Linked DNA regions of Homo sapiens: region 1 is linked to region 2. Evidence: promoter capture Hi-C in human tissues and cell types (Jung and others, 2019). All regions are on one chromosome and are shown on one strand. The core of a region is centred on a gene start or on the middle of the fragment in contact, and the rest is flanking DNA. Distances in the headings are between cores, read along the strand shown. Region 1 overlaps ERBB4 (erb-b2 receptor tyrosine kinase 4). Region 2 holds the start of ERBB4 (erb-b2 receptor tyrosine kinase 4).

Region 1 (4,107 bases), core at 294-2,793, 180 kb after region 2:
TGCGAATGTAATTATTATCTTTTATTTTCTGGTTTAGCATTTGTTTTCTTACCTTTAAGAAAACACAGACAATCTTCACAATAGAATATTGGGTTCTGTTTCCTTTGATGTAGTAATGCATATACAATATTGCACTAATGATTAACTGGTGTGCCCCTGAGGTTTCCCAGACAAAACTGCCTTTCAGCAGATTCCTTATCTGCTATCAGGGGAGTGTTTACAGCAGCTAGAACTCTTAAGCGCCTTGTCTCTGAGACTGATGGGGATAATTAAGCCAGTGTTTGCCAGCCCTCTGCTCTTCTTGGTGAGGTTGGAAACTAGGAAAAAACAGATACATTAGCCCAAAACAAAACCTGCAAATTCATGTTCAGCAATTTGAAATAGATTTTATTGGTTGATTTTCTTCTAAACCTTCCACTTTATTTCTGATAGAAACCTATCTGAACCTTCAGGCAGAATAGAAAACTGCCTTCTCAATACAGATCATCAAATTTTCTATCAAAGCGATATAGATTGATGGAGATATATATGGATATATATATGTATATATATACAAGTTTTTAAAATATGTAAATATTTCTGACTTTTATATATCACATTTAGAACAAGTTTAGATATATACAATAGTATTTAATAAGATATTGCACAGTATTCTGAGTCAAGACATTTTAAAGGGGGCTTGCTGTTGAAGATTTCATGATTTTTAAGAACAATATCTGTTGTGAAATTATGTGGCAAAATATGATGTTGCATTGGTTTATTTTCCCTCATCCTCTGCATTTCTAGAAGAAGAGTTCTCATAATCAGTTTTAAATGAATTGTGCAGAGATGTAGCTGAAATAGAATAATTTATACCAGTTACTCATGCAGTAAATTAGGATAATATACTTTTCTAAACTTAATATATATTCAGTGAATGTATTCATCTTTTTTCATATATTGTATATATCTTTTGACATACAAGGTTTCATAATGAAGGTTAGATTTTGAATCCAATATTTAAGGCTGGTGAGTTATTGCTAAGAAATTATTAAAGCATGAGAATTTCTATACCTCTTTTCTTTAATTCACTCTGAATGAATTGGTGAAAATGACAACATTTAGCCTTTGTGATGTTAGATAGTTAAGTATTCGTTATTCTATCATTTTTCATGTTACTTAAATCATTGATTCATAATTTAAACAGGGTAAATATATACACCAAAATTTCCAGGAATGGAAAACATATATAACCTCATTAATCAAGAAATTTTAATTGAAAACTCCAATTATAAATTAGCTAAGATGTCATTTAAGATGATTTAATCAAGGAATAAGAATTTACTCCCATATGAACATTTATAATCTTCAGCTATTTGAATGGCACACTTTTTGTACAAATTATTTGTCTACTGTACAAGTGTACCTTCCTTGTCTGTGTTTTATTAGGTAAACATAATACTGTTTTTTTTTTAAAAAAAGTGCTAAGAACTGAGTGTGTTATTTGGTACAAAATGCTGCTTGCTGTTTACCAAATGTAAAATTGTAGGAAAAGACATGATCTTAAAATATTTAAGCATATGAAGTTGTTAAAAATATTAATCTGATATTATCAGCACAGGTCACGTAAGTATTTTATGAATTCTCCTTCAGGAAAGATTTAAATAGTTCTTTTTAAAAAAATGTATTCATGTATGAGAAAATTGGTATCCGTTCTTTTAGAAATGAGGTTATAAATAATAGTTTGAATATTTTCCCTGTCAAGCAAATTTGTCTCAGAAACCTGAAGACATCTATGGGAAGTCATTTAGAAATGCTCTGAAAAGCAAAATTTGGCCTAGAAAATGTACTTTGACAAATAGGAGAGCAATGAATACACGATGTTCAAAAGTAATCTAAAGATGATTCTGGGTGAGGCCAGTGGAAATCAAATGAATCCGACACCATGAAATCCATTATTGTTTGACCATTATCTAAACCTCCCTGCTCAGAAAGGATACTTTGTCCCCCCACACCACACTGTGTTTACCTACTATATTCTTGCAGTGTAATGTAGTAACCAAGTGACCGTGGGGCTGAACAATTTCAAGTCTCCCACACAGTGGAGGGCAGCACACTATGTCTTTGATAGAAAGCTACGTTTCTGCACTCTACAGTGTTAAAACAGATCGAAGGAGGTTAGTCAAAGGAAAATGTTGGTTGTGTTGATGAGACCATTTTCAGTGTCTGGGCTTCTCTGTGGGCAAACGTACATTTTCATAAAATGAATATGGGAAAAAGAAAGGTGACATGTTTTTAAATATTGAGCTTGATAAAACAAGCTTATTTTTATTGTATATTTCTGCTGAATTACCTTTTGCCTATTTACCATAATTTACCTATAATAATTTAATATATTTAAATAACTTTGTACACCGCTTATACTTCGAATCTATTTTTAAAGTCGTATTCTCACAGCATTCATGCTTCACAGATGGACAGATGGATCCACTTGAGCACTTTTCTTTGATAAATTGGACTAATTTATCTTAATAATATGAGGACACCATCTAAAGGAACTTTATAATTTATCATAATAAGGAGGTAACCATACAATATTTAAAAGAAAATGAATCCTTTTTTTATTTTAAAGCTCATTGTTCTGAATGAAATACTACAGACCTGTATTGTAAACAAAAAGAAAATGGGGAAAAAAGCAAAAGCTGAGAGACATATGATATCCAGGAATAGCAAATTTGCTCACATAATTTTTGAAGGATAAGACACTTATGTATAAGACACTATTATGTATCTTATGATTTTATTTACATATGTTAAAATTCAAATGATCATGTTTAAAATAATTTTTTCTTAGGCCACAAAAATCCTTTAAAATGATAATGAGAGGAAAATATACTTATGTTTGATTGATATGATCTAGAGTTTAATAATGCATTTTAGTCAGTATGGTGTTTCTATGTATAAGTTTCTAAGGTAGCAAAACCAAGAAATTTATTTTTACTTTATTTCACATAAAAATAGCATCATAGGTGATGTTCAAGCAATTTGACTGAATATGAGCATTCATACTATTAGGATAAAAGTTGGAAAGATCGATTTATCAAGGAATGTTTTTTTTTTACATGGGTTCATCTGTCCATCTGTGACTCAGTAGTGATTATGATTTAAAAATAGAGGGCATGTATAGACAGTTGCAAAAGGAGGATGCTTAAATGTATTGACTTATTTTTAGATAAGCAGGTAAAATAACAAAAAAAACCTACTTTAGGAGACAAGTGTTATGTGATAAATTATGAAGATCATGCTTTGTGAAATGTATTTTTGATACTTACTTTTAAAAGTAATTTGCCATTGGGAGGAGGAGGAGTAGCTGAGAAAAACAAATTATGCCATTAGTAGAGCCATCAGATTTATTTTTTACAAGGCTTTATTCTCTATAAACTAAAGTGAACAAATACAGAATTTAGGGTGGGACATCTGAGACAGACCCATTGGCTCTGCCTGTGGCTGATGGAAGTGTGTACAACTTGATTAATGAGGTCTTGCTGCTCCTGTGAAAACATATTTGTAATTTCTGTAGTTGTGTGAGGATCAGTACAGCAACATGGTTGACTGCCCCCTCCAAAGTACTGGCTGAAGCAGTCTACAAAAAGCAGTTTGGAACAGCGAGTAATATTTAAAGGTGGGTTTGTTAATAGAATCAGCATTTTACAGAAAAGATCAATTGCTTTTATGTTCAGACTTGAATATATAATAATTGTAAGGATAAACAATAACTGTTTTATACCCTCTGGGAGTTTATTTGAAATGCATTACTATATATAAAGAGGAATTAATTTAATTTTGTTTAGTGCTTTTTTCCTTAGCGTCAGTGGGACTGAGCTGCACATTTCAAATTTACCCTTACAAATGACATGACTAACTTCCTTAGCAAAGGTTGGAAGTGAGGTGGGAACAGATAGGTGATGCCATAGGTTGGAATATATTAGATGATTTTATATATATACACATATATATACACACTCACACATACACACATATATACATACATGCATATACATATATACATAAATACACACATGCATATATATCTATCACAGTTAATATAACATATACCCTTTAAAGGAT
Region 2 (4,660 bases), core at 603-3,102:
TGCACAGTTTTGCTGCAATCAGTACCATTCTGGTCAAGTCTCCGTCATCTGCTCTAGGCTTAGTTCCTCTCTGCCCTAGGCTGCTTCTGGTAAAACCGCACGCTCAGCTTGTTGGGCGTCTTCATGGAGCCTGTTATTTGCTGTGGGTCTAAGAAAGGGAAAGCTTCAGGCTTCAGGCATCTGTACCTCCTATCTGTTCTCAGCTCCATGGAAATTCTTAAGGGATGGGGCTATAGATAAGAGAGTGGGAAATGGAGATCAAGGTCTCAAATGAAAGGCAGGGTGGTTTGATTTTTAAGCTCCCCTGATACTTTTTATTTATATATTTGCTGCTTCTAGAAAAACCAAAAAAGGAAAGTGATTCATACATAGAATGCCTGTACAAATAGCAAACCAATAACTACCCCCAGCAGATTCTGGCCCTTGCCAGGGTGCGGTTTCAGAGCTGTAAAAGGCAAGGGATATGTACATTGAAATGACCCAGTCCCAGAATATTTTAGATTCAGAAAAGGTCAGAGACTTTCGTAACTAGCAATGACCTCCAGATTAGGGACCATGAATGTGCAGAGTGAGGACAAGGAAGGGGCCTAAAGCTGGGTCTACTGTAGAATAAACAGAATCATTTAAGGTTAATTATGTTCTGATGTGGCCTCCTTAAATTCTTTCAGGCTGGGGACAATTTCTAGCCCTTTAAGATCAAATCAGTGGCTTTGGACTAGAATCTGCTTAATAAGAATGAACTCCAAAGGTGAAAAAAAAACATAAAATCTAAAAATCAAAGGATATGCCTTTATAAATGTGAAAGTTTAGTTTGGCTCAATGTTGGTCAGTTTAGAAATGTGGGAGTAATCGGAGAGATGGCATAACTGGGGGCGGGAGGCGGGGCGGTGATTATACCCCTACCACTACCTAATCCTCAGGGGCTACCAGTTACTTGCTGTACACACTTTTAAAGTACTTTCTAATTGTGGACCATGAGTGGCAGAGTACTGCGGGCGGAGGCTTTTTGCTGAAAGCAACATTGACTTTTATTTCTAGGGAAAGTCTTGTCTGTAGATGAGCACCGTGGGGCAACGGAGAAAATGCTGACTTTCTTGTTTAAAAAAAAAAAAAATTTCCGTAAGCGGCCCTCCAATGGTCCGTCCACTCAGCAGGCCAGCTGTCCCAGGCCTCTGCCAGGGAGGGAAGACGAGTGCTTCAGTGCATGGCTTCGGTGAGCCCTTTAAATCCAGCTTCCCCTGCCCCCACCAAGAGGCTCCCTTTCCCTGACAGGTGTTTTCCCAACTCCGGAGGCCCAGGATTTTGGGGAGTGGCTGAGCCAATAAGATTTCCCTTTGGAAGGGGGGGGGAAGGGCGTGGCTAGTTGGGTCAGAGCATGGGCGGGGTTTGCGCGGCTGAGCAGAGCCGGCCTGGTTGCGTGGAGGGTTGTTTTATTCCCACCGCCCCCCGCACCTTTTTTTTTTTTTTTTCTGGAGTCTTATTAATTTCTCTGTGGGCTGCAGCTGGAGACCGCGGAGCGCTGGAAATGACGCTCGGAGCTTTAATTACCGCAGCCGCCGGACAAGTGTGAGGAAAGCTGAGAGGAAAAAGAAGGACGGGATCCGGGGAGAAGCGAGAAGCTCCCCCCGCCCCGCTCCCCTCCCGATTTGGACTGGAGGTGCAAGGAAACTGAAGAAGGAGCAGAACATAGCCCGGCTGCGGGGAGAGGCCGGAAACCTACCGCCTCTTTGCAATCAACTTTTTTTGGAAACCTTTCGCCCCCCTTCCTTTTTTATTGTTGACCAACCAGTGAGAGAGAGAGAAAGTGAGGAGGGAGCGAGCAAGCGAAGGCTCACGCGGGGAAATAGCTGCACAGTCCGGCCCAGAGCGCCAAGCGCACACACCGAGCACACTCCCACACGCGCACACACGCGCTCACACTCGCCCCCTCCTCGGGCCCCGGCCCTGGACCCGCGGGCGCGGACTCGGTCGCCCGCCCTGGGAGTCGCCACACCGCGCGCGCCGCGCCCGCCCCCCTCGCACCCCCACGCGCGCCCGGCTGGGGGATCTCCTCCGCGTGCCCGAAAGGGGGATATGCCATTTGGACATGTAATTGTCAGCACGGGATCTGAGACTTCCAAAAAATGAAGCCGGCGACAGGACTTTGGGTCTGGGTGAGCCTTCTCGTGGCGGCGGGGACCGTCCAGCCCAGCGATTCTCAGTCAGGTGGGTTCCTTCTGGCACTCCGGTCGCCGAACCTGCAGCCGCCGGCGGGGCTGCCTCGAGTGGCTCCCCTGCCCTCTTCACCCATCCCGGGAGGCGTGGAGGGACCGCTTGACCGGGGCCTCTTCCCTGGGCTTTCGGTCACCCCTCTTTCCATTTGAAACTTACCCTGTATGTGTGCGTTTGCTTTATTTATCGTGAAAAATCACTCTGAGTCCCTCTTTTCTCTCCTTAACCCCCTGCTTTTCTTTCCCGAGCGTTTTGTTTGGGAGCCTAAGCGGGATCCCTTCTGGTGGCGCCTGTTGTTCGGGACATGGGAGACCCAAATCCCCAGTCAGAGGAGACTCTTCTGTCCCTGTCGGGTCCCCGAGGGCAGAACCCGCACCGCCGGGGCCGCGGTCCTGGGGCGGTGCTGGCTGGGCCTCTCCCGAGCCGAGCCCGAAGGGCGGTGGAGAGCGGCGCTCAGAAAATCGGGCTTTGCACCTGTGTGTGCTGCTGGCGACCGCTGCGCCCCCAGTCGCCCGAGCCTTGTGGCGTCAGACGCAACTCGCGCCCAGCCCGGGCAGCCGGAGTGCAGCAGGCGGGCGCGCCTCGGTCCGGGGCCCGGAGTTCTGGGCCTCTTCCGCCGGCTTCCCGGAGCCCTCTCCCCATTGACTTGAGGGGCGCTTACTCGCCTGCCTGACCTCTTAAAAAAAAAAAAAAAGGCTTGGCACACTTGAGCCAGAAGCCCGGCCTTCCCGTCGGTTGCCGTGTTTGGCTCCGGGAAGAGTTCTTCCTGTAGTTCAACTTGCTATTGGCCGGAGTCCTTCAAACTTGTCTGTTTACTGCCCGGCCAGGCTGCCGAGCCTGCGGGTCACTGGATCCACCCGAGGCGAAAGCGGCAGCGGCGATGGGTGCGCGGCCACTGCTTGCTGGAGAGCTCGAGCCCCAGGTACCTGGGCAGGCAAAGGGCTAATTGACCCCGAGAGGCAGCGCGGCGGGGCTGGCCCGCCACGGCTTGCAGGACTAATGACAGCACCTGCAGTGCAATGGAGCTCAAAGTTTCTGACACTAGAGTTTCCTGGGGATGAAAGTGGGACGGGAGAGGTCTGAGGAGGACCGGTGTCTTGACGTGGCCAAGGGGTGCCTTTTGGAGAGCCAGAGAGATTTCCGAAACCATCCAGGGATGGTGACTGGAGCGTGGGAAGTAGCTTGAGGTGATAAAGCCCCCGGGAGTGGCGATAGGGAGCGCTTTAGGCCCCCGGAGGGTGTCCTTCTGACCTCACCAAGAAAACGGCTAGCTGTAGTTTTCCCGCTCCGCCGCCGCCGCCGCCGCCGCCTCCTTTGCCTAGTAAATAACAAGTTACAATTATCGAGTCTTTCAAAATGACCTTCGAATGGCACATGTGAGGCGTTTGTGCTGGCCGTTTGCACCCTCCCAATTACTCCGAAATTCTTCACGCATACCAGGTCCCGCGCTCCAGCCACCTCCGGAATCACACCAACACGGACTTGACATTCCAAGCGGCCTCTTAGATACATCTCTTTTTATCTCCCTCCCCACTTCGAGTCCCTTCATATTTTCCCTCAATGGGTTGATTATGCACATTGACCCATTCAAAGGCATTGGCGACCGACATGCAGGCTTAGCCGAGAGGAATTTCTACGAGGCGACCTACTGGGGGCTGTCTGGTTCAGCCTCTGCCACTGGGGGACCCCGCTCCGAGTCCGCAGCAATTTGGTATTAACTGTGCGGCTCCGAGTTGAGCTATGCCGAAAAGCCCTTTTCAGAATTTCTGCAAGGAATGTAATCCAAATTAGTTCTGCAGCTGTCCTCTTCCTCGTCTCAGGCGACACTAGCTCGCGCCCTCGCTTCGTCTCTTCTCGTTTCCCTGGGCGAATTGTCAGACCCACAAGTGAGCCCATTTAGAGCGCGAGGATTAGCGTGCCATTGTTGTTCCGTGTGTGACTCTGTACTTGAAATTCTGGGGGCACAAAGGCGAGCCTCACTTGTTCAAAACACAAAGTGATCCAGATGAAAGGGCCGCACAAAGAAAAGCTCTCGGGTGCATCCCTGGTATAATTGCAACACGCATACTAAGGTGATCCATTGGAAACTGTAAATGCCCCGGGGGACTTCGTTTTTCATCCTCCCCCACCCCCACCCTGCCGCACCTGGCAGGGAAAGTTCAGCTGGTTTTAATGCAGTGCTATTATAAAAACAAGTTACTGTCTGGGGTATGAGTGAGGCTGTGTGTGTTTGTGCCTATGTATGTGTGTGGCTGTGTGTTCCCAACTAAATACATATTGCGCGTCTCCCCTCTCGCGGTTAGCAGTCAGTAGCAGTTTGGAGGAGTTTGTTTTGGTCCAAATGAGAAATTAAGTGCGGATAAGTAAACTAAGCTGCCAGAGGGCGACAAGATGTTGAGTGAATTGCTTTTAGATGAAACAAATTAAGGAAACGAGGGAAGACAATCTG

What was found. The method cuts DNA at HindIII sites, captures the fragments that hold promoters and counts their contacts. A contact is called where the count stands out against the background at its distance.
Region 1: a contact is called between a fragment that was not itself captured here and the fragment with the promoter of ERBB4 in region 2, in 1 of the 25 tissues and cell types used here (hippocampus).

The regions. Positions count from the first base shown.
Region 1 is chr2:212,355,713-212,359,819 of GRCh38, reverse strand. All of the region lies in intron 1 of ERBB4 (erb-b2 receptor tyrosine kinase 4), which reads left to right. Among named protein-coding and RNA genes, the nearest start is that of MIR548F2, 69 kb to the left of the region's middle. The HindIII fragment of the contact is 4,996 bases long and covers 1-4,041 here.
Region 2 is chr2:212,535,994-212,540,653 of GRCh38, reverse strand. ERBB4 (erb-b2 receptor tyrosine kinase 4) reads left to right here and starts at 1,852. Exons shown (of 28, transcript NM_005235.3): 1 at 1,852-2,205. The coding sequence starts at 2,124. RefSeq lists an enhancer at 2,821-3,321. The HindIII fragment of the contact is 8,258 bases long and covers 1-4,660 here.